Regions from separate parts of the Homo sapiens genome. Here region 2 is linked to region 1. The links are contacts of gene promoters, found by promoter capture Hi-C in human tissues and cell types (Jung and others, 2019). All regions are on one chromosome and are shown on one strand. Each heading gives the region's core, a stretch centred on a gene start or on the middle of the fragment in contact. The rest is flanking DNA. Distances are from core to core; before and after follow the strand shown. Region 1 holds the start of PHLDB3 (pleckstrin homology like domain family B member 3). Region 2 overlaps PLAUR (plasminogen activator, urokinase receptor).

Region 1 (3,203 bases), core at 392-2,891:
GATCTCCTGACCTCGTGATCCACCAGCCTCGGCCTCCCAAAGTGCTGGGATTACAGGTGTGAGCCACCGCGCCCAGCCCGGGAGCCCACAAGATTTCTAACTCACAAGATCAAAAACAAACACAGCTATCTGGGGCAGGTCTTCTCATCACCTTGGATTAGAACACCGGCTTGCTTTTGAGCCACTTCCCACTTAGCCCTGGGGTAAGTTACTTCACTTCTCTAGGCCTCAGTTTTCTTATCTCTAAAATGGAAGGAATAATAATGGGGTGTTGTGATGCTCTGATGAGTCAATGTGTGTGAGTGCCTGGCACATGGCCTATCAGTGTTCACCATTAAAGTTACTATCATTTAGAATGATCTTTTGGGTACTTCCTGGCTTGTAGTGACAGTATACGCAATGGTTAAGAACATGGACTTTTGAGAGAATGAAGCCTGCATTTTACCACTTACAACATGTGTAGATGTTGGCTACATTTTTTTTTTTTTTTCTGAGATGGGGTCTTACTCTGTCGCCCAGGCTGGAGTGCAGTGGCACATTCAAGACTCACTGCAGCCTCGACCTCCTGGGCTCGAGATATCCTCCTGCCTCAGCCTCTGGAGTAGCTGAGATGACAGGTGTGTGCCACCACGCCTGGCATAATTTTTGTATTTTTAGTAGAGATGGGGTTTCTCCATGTTGCCCAGGCTGGCCTTGAACTCCTGATCTCAAGCAATCCACCTGCCTCGGCTTCCCAAAGTGCTGGGATTACAGGCCTGAGCCTCTGTGCCCAGCCAACCTTGGGTGCATTTGTCCTCCTCAGCTTGTATCCCCAAGTGTAAAATGGAGATAGTAGGCCAGGAGCGGTGGCTCACGCCTGTAATCTCAACACTTTGGGAGGCTGAGGCAGGCAGGTTGTTTGAGCCCAGGAGTTCAAGATCAGCCTGGGCAACCTGGAGAAACCCAGTCTCTACTAAAAAAAAAGAAATGGAGGTAGTAATCACTTTCTCGCTGGACAGCTTTGAGGGTGAAATTAAATGACTGGGTATAAAGTGTTTCACACAGCTCTTGACTTCTAATCATCCCTTTTCATATACCAGTTATTTTCCTGTTTTCATTTTCCTGTTTTCGCCCAGAGAGGAAAGGGTCTGGCTGAGACCTTTAACCTCTGCCCTCCACCCCATAGCAAAGTTGTGGGGGGGTGGCGGTACACTTCCCTCAGTCTCTGGGCAGGTGTCTGACTCAGTTCAGGGCACCCCTTCCCCTTGTCCAGCTCCCCAAACCGGTCAGGGCCCTTCTGAAGGGCTCATTAGAGGGGAGACGTCCCCATCTCCATTCCTGCCTTCCTTTCTGAACTCCCAAGGTCTGGACATTAGAGAGGCTCCCATACAGAGGTGGCCAAGACTCCTCCAGGGGGGCAGGAATGAGGGGCTCGAGGGAGACTGGGAGGTCGCGATGCTGAGTTCCACGAGGGTGGGGCCGGGCCGGGGCCGGTGGGGCCGGGATGGCCGGATGCCGAGGCCACGGGTGGGGCAAGCCCGTGGCTCCCTCCTCCCTCGGGAGCTGTTGGACCTGTTGTCCCCCCTCCACTTCCGGGCTGCTGGGGAGGGGGACCGGGCGGCCTCTCTCCTCCCTCTTCCCCTGCCACCTGTCTCATAGGCAGAAGCGGCCGTGCCCAGCGCGCAGAGCGGAGCGCGCCGAAGCCTGAGCTCGTGAGGGGGCCGAGGCTGTGGGGAGGTGGCAGTTGGACTTCGGAATCTCAAGGACTCCGACTCCTGGCTTGTTCAGAGAAGGAGAGCCCCGACTCCTGGATCCCTGGGTGAGGCGGCGTGGGCACGGTTGCCCTGCACAGTGGGGTCGGGACTAAGACTACGGGGCTCCGGGAAGGATGGGGCGGGAGCCGAACTGCTGAGTCTCGGAGGGAGAAGATGGGTCGCTCTAAGCGAATCCAAGAGATTGTAGGGGGCTGCTGGGAGGGTACAAGGCCTGACACCTAGAGATGAGGGAGGGGAGGCGGGGTCGAAGAGGTCAGTAGGGGGCGTGCTACGACCCGGACTCAAATTCCGGTCCCGTCTCCGGTGGCGTGTCGCCTTGGAGCCATCAAGCCCCGCCTCTGGAAACTTCAGGACACGCCTCCGTAACGCTCAGTTCCATCCTTTGAACTCTTAGGCCCCGCCTCCTTGGGGGGGGGTCTCCGCGCCCCGGAGCAGACGCGAGCGGCGCTCAGCCGTCCTAGGCCCCGCCCCCGGAGCTTCTGGTCCCGCCCACCCCGCAGGAGTCCCAGCGGCCATGGGGACGCGAAGCAGCCCCGAGGAGGGGACCCCGCCGCCGCTGGTCCCGGAATGCGACGTGGAGGTCCAGCCCCAGGGCCATCCCGAGGAGTCCCGGGAACAGGAGGCATCCGAAGTCCTGGCGGAACCTTCGAGCCGCGGGGGAGCTGAGCAGCAGGCAGAGGAAGAAGAAGTGGGAGAAGGCAGCAGCACTGAGAGCAGCCGCGACGCGGTGAGGGGCCCGAGGGCGACAGCGCGGGGGGCTTGGACCGACGGGGACCCAAACAGGTGGCCAGACAGGTAGACAGGTAGAGGGAAACCAGAAAGACAGAGACCCGGAGACAGGGAGAGAGACCGAGTGATAGCAGAGACTACTGAGAGAGAGATACACCAGGACACGGAGCCAGAGAGGCAGAGGCACAGACAGACAGAAACCAGATACAGAGACAGAAACCAGATAGAGCCACGGGGAGGCCCCAAGAACGGAGATAGACCCAAACGGGCGACAGAGACAGAGAGACTAGTATAGAGGAACCAGATAGGTGGCTCACGCCTGTAATCCCAGCACTTGGGGAGGCCGAGGGGAGGATTGCTTAAGCCCAGGAGTTCGAGACAAGTCTGGGCAACATAGCAAATCCCTGTCTCTAGAGAAAAAAAAAATACAAAAATTGTCCAAGCGCAGTGCCGCGTGCCTGTAATCCCAGCTACTCGGGAGGCTGAGGCAGGAGGATCGCTTGAGCCCAGGAGTTGTAGGCTGCGGTGAACTATGACTGCGCCACTGCACCCCAGCCTGGGACAAAGCAGAACCTATCTCTAAAAATGAGAGAGAGAGAGAGAGAGAGAGAGAGAGAGAGAGACCAGATAGACAGACAGGAGAGACTACAGAACAGAGAGAACCAAACGAGTAAGAGATGCAGAGAGATCAAGAAGCCAGACAGAGACCCAGAGACATGG
Region 2 (3,203 bases), core at 423-2,922, 150 kb before region 1:
CACTGCAGCCTCAAACTCCTGGGCTCAGGAATTCTTCCCACCTAAGCTACTGGAGTAGCTGCGACTACAGGTGCATGCCACCGTACCCAGCTAATTTTGTATTTTTGGTAGAGATGGGGTCTTGCTTTGTTGCCCAGGCTGGTCTTGAACTCCTGGGCTTGGCCTCCCAAAGTGTTAGGATTACAGGCATGAGCCACCATGCACCACCAATTTTTTATTTTTTAATGTAAATCAGATCATGTCACCCTCCTTTCTCAGGCACTTCAATGACTTCCCCTTCCTCTTAGAATAAGATCCAAAGACCTTATTCTGTTGGCCTATGTAATCTGGCACCTGTCTGCCTCACAGTCTTTGTTTAGATTCGTTTTTGGGGTTTTGTGTTTTCTTTAGACATAGGGTCTTGCTCTGCCACCCAGGCTGGGGTGCAGTGGCACAATCACGGCTCACTGCCACCTCAAACTCCTGGGCTCCAGTGATCCTCCCACCTCAGCTTCCCAAGTAGCTGGGACTACAGATGCGCATCATTGCACCCAGCTACATTTTTTTTTTTTTTCTGAGATGGAGTCTTGCGCTGTTGCCCAGGCTGGAGTGCAGTGGCGCGATCTTGGCTCACTGCAAGCTCCGCCTCCCGGGTTCACGCCATTCCCCTGCCTCAGCCTCCCGAGTGGCTGGGACTACAGGCACCCACCACCATGCCTGGCTAATTTTTGTATTTTTAGTAGAGACAGGGTTTCACTGTGTTAGCCAGGATGATCTCGATCTCCTGACCTCATGATCCGCCTGACTCAGCCTCCCAAAGTGCTGGGATTACAGGCGTGAGCCACCACGCCCGGCCGCACCCAGCTAAATTTTTAAAACTTTTGTAGAGATGGGGTCTCACTATGTTGCCGGGGCTGGTATCAAACTCCCAGGCTCAAGCAATCCTTCTGCCTTGACCTCCCAAAGTGCTGGGATTACAGGCATGAGCCGCTGCACCTGGCCTTCATTTAGTTTCTTTCTTTCTTCCTTTCTTTCTTTTTTTAGATGGAGTCTCGCTCTGTCAGCCAGGCTGGAGGGCAGTGGCGTGATCTTGGCTCACTGCAACCTCCGCCTCCCAGGTTCAAGCGATTCTCCTGCCTCGGCCTCCCAAAGTGCTGGGATTACAGGCATGAGCCGCTGTGCTGACGTTCATTTGGTTTCTATAATCACCAAAGCCCATCTGGTCTCATGGCCCTTGCAGATGAATATCCTCCCTTAGAACACATCTTCCCCAAGAGTTCACCCTGCTGGCAACTTCTCATCCATTAGGCCTCAGCTTTAATGTATCATCTTCAGGGATGCTTTCACTGTCCCTCCCCTCCAGTGTAATCTAGATCCCTGTCTCTATTACCCAGCACTGTCAACAGATAGAAATGTTCCCTATCTGTCCTGTCCAATATTACAGCCACCACTGTATGTGGTCAGTGAGCACTTGAAATGTGAACTGAATTTTAAGATTCGATTTAATATTAATTTATTTAAATGTAAACAACCACATGTGGCCAGTGGCTACCAGATTGGGTAGTGTAGCTCTAAATTGTAAATTCTGGCTGGGCACAGTGGCTCACACCTGTAATCCCAGCACTTTTGGAGGCGGAGGCGGGAGGGTCGCCTGAGGCCAGGAGTTTGAGACAAGCCTAGGCAACATAGCAAGACTCCGTCTCAAAAAAAATTTTTTAGTAATAATAATAGTAATAACTTGTAAGTTCTGGCCAGGTACAGTGGCTCACACCTGTACTCCGAGAACATTGGGAGGCTGAGGCAGGCAGATTGCTTGATCCCAGGAGTTTGAGACCAGCCTGAGTAATGTGTCAAAACCCCATCTCTACAAAAAACAGAAAAATTGGCTAGGCATGGTGGTGCACGCCTGTAGTCCCAGCTACTCAGGAGGCTGATGTGGAAGAATCTCTTGAGCCGGGGTGGTCGAGGCTGCAGTGAGCTACAATTGCGCCACTGCACTCCAGCCTGGGCAACAAACTGAGACCCTGTATCAAAAATAAATAAATAAGTTGTAACTTTTGTGAGAGCAAGGACAGTTTCATCTTACATAGTTTTACCCAGCACCCAGCACGGTGCCTGGCCAGAAATGGGACTCATGGGGAGTTGAAAGTTGGGGTTTCTCTCAAGCCCTCGAAAACCATCCCCCTCCAAATGCCATTCAGACGCCTGACCACAAGGTGGCTCCATGACATCTCTGGCTCGGAGTGGAAGTCCTGGGGAGGTCATTCAAGGAAGTGGAGATCCAAGCACTAATTTTCTTGGTCTCTGTGTCTCTGGTCTTCTCCTAAGTCCTGGAGCTTGAAAATCTGCCGCAGAATGGCCGCCAGTGTTACAGCTGCAAGGGGAACAGCACCCATGGATGCTCCTCTGAAGAGACTTTCCTCATTGACTGCCGAGGCCCCATGAATCAATGTCTGGTAGCCACCGGCACTCACGGTGAGGCCCTCTCCGAGGCTGGGAGGGAACACTTATTGGGGGTGGAGAGTTCCGCAAGAGATTGACTTCCAGTTAAGCTGGAGTTAACTGTGGTGGGTCTCCCTGTGGAAAAGGTGGGATTTCCTTCAGGTGGGTGAATATTATTGTAAGGAATTAGGACTTGTCCATCAGGATGTGGACATTTTTGCCATGGAAAAGTGGAATTCCGGCTGGGTGCGGTGGCTGAAGCTTGTACTCTCAGCACTTTGGGAGGCTGAGGCCGGAGGATCTCTTGAGGCCAGGAGTTTGAGACCAGCCTGGGCAACATAGCAAGACCCCCATCTCTACAAAAAGAAAAATGGAATTCTTTGGTGGATTTCTCGTGGGTTGTGGGGATTTGCTGAAGACATCTTGGGCTTTCATCCTGTGGTGTCCTGGAAAGGTCTCTGTATTCCAGTGGTTCTCAAACTTTTTGGTCTCAACTTCTTCATGCTTTTAAAAATTATTTTTGGCCAGGTGTGGTGGCTCACGCCTGTAATTGCAACACCTTGGGAGGGTGAGGAGGAGAACCACTTGAGGTCAGGAGTATGAGAGCAAGCCTGGCCACCATGGTGAAACCCTGTCTCTACAAAAAATTACAAAAATTAGCTGGGTGTGGTGGCGTGCACCTATAACCCCAGCTACTCAGGGGGCTGAGGCACGAGAATCACTTGAACCCAGGAGGAGGAGGTTGCAGTGAGTGGGGATCACCCCACTGCACTCCAGCCTGG

Evidence for each region. Contacts are between HindIII fragments. The study calls those that stand out against the background at their distance.
Region 2: a contact is called between a fragment that was not itself captured here and the fragment with the promoter of PHLDB3 in region 1, in 1 of the 25 tissues and cell types used here (spleen).

Annotation. Positions count from the first base shown.
Region 1 is chr19:43,503,184-43,506,386 of GRCh38, reverse strand. It overlaps PHLDB3 (pleckstrin homology like domain family B member 3), which reads left to right and starts at 1,641. Exons shown (of 16, transcript NM_198850.4): 1 at 1,641-1,798; 2 at 2,255-2,481. The coding sequence starts at 2,269. RefSeq lists silencers at 1,445-1,504, 2,105-2,354 and an enhancer at 1,983-2,505. The HindIII fragment of the contact is 32,375 bases long and covers 1-3,203 here.
Region 2 is chr19:43,651,476-43,654,678 of GRCh38, reverse strand. PLAUR (plasminogen activator, urokinase receptor) reads left to right here. Exons shown (of 7, transcript NM_002659.4): 6 at 2,308-2,454. Among named protein-coding and RNA genes, the nearest start is that of CADM4, 13 kb to the right of the region's middle. The HindIII fragment of the contact is 8,598 bases long and covers 1-3,203 here.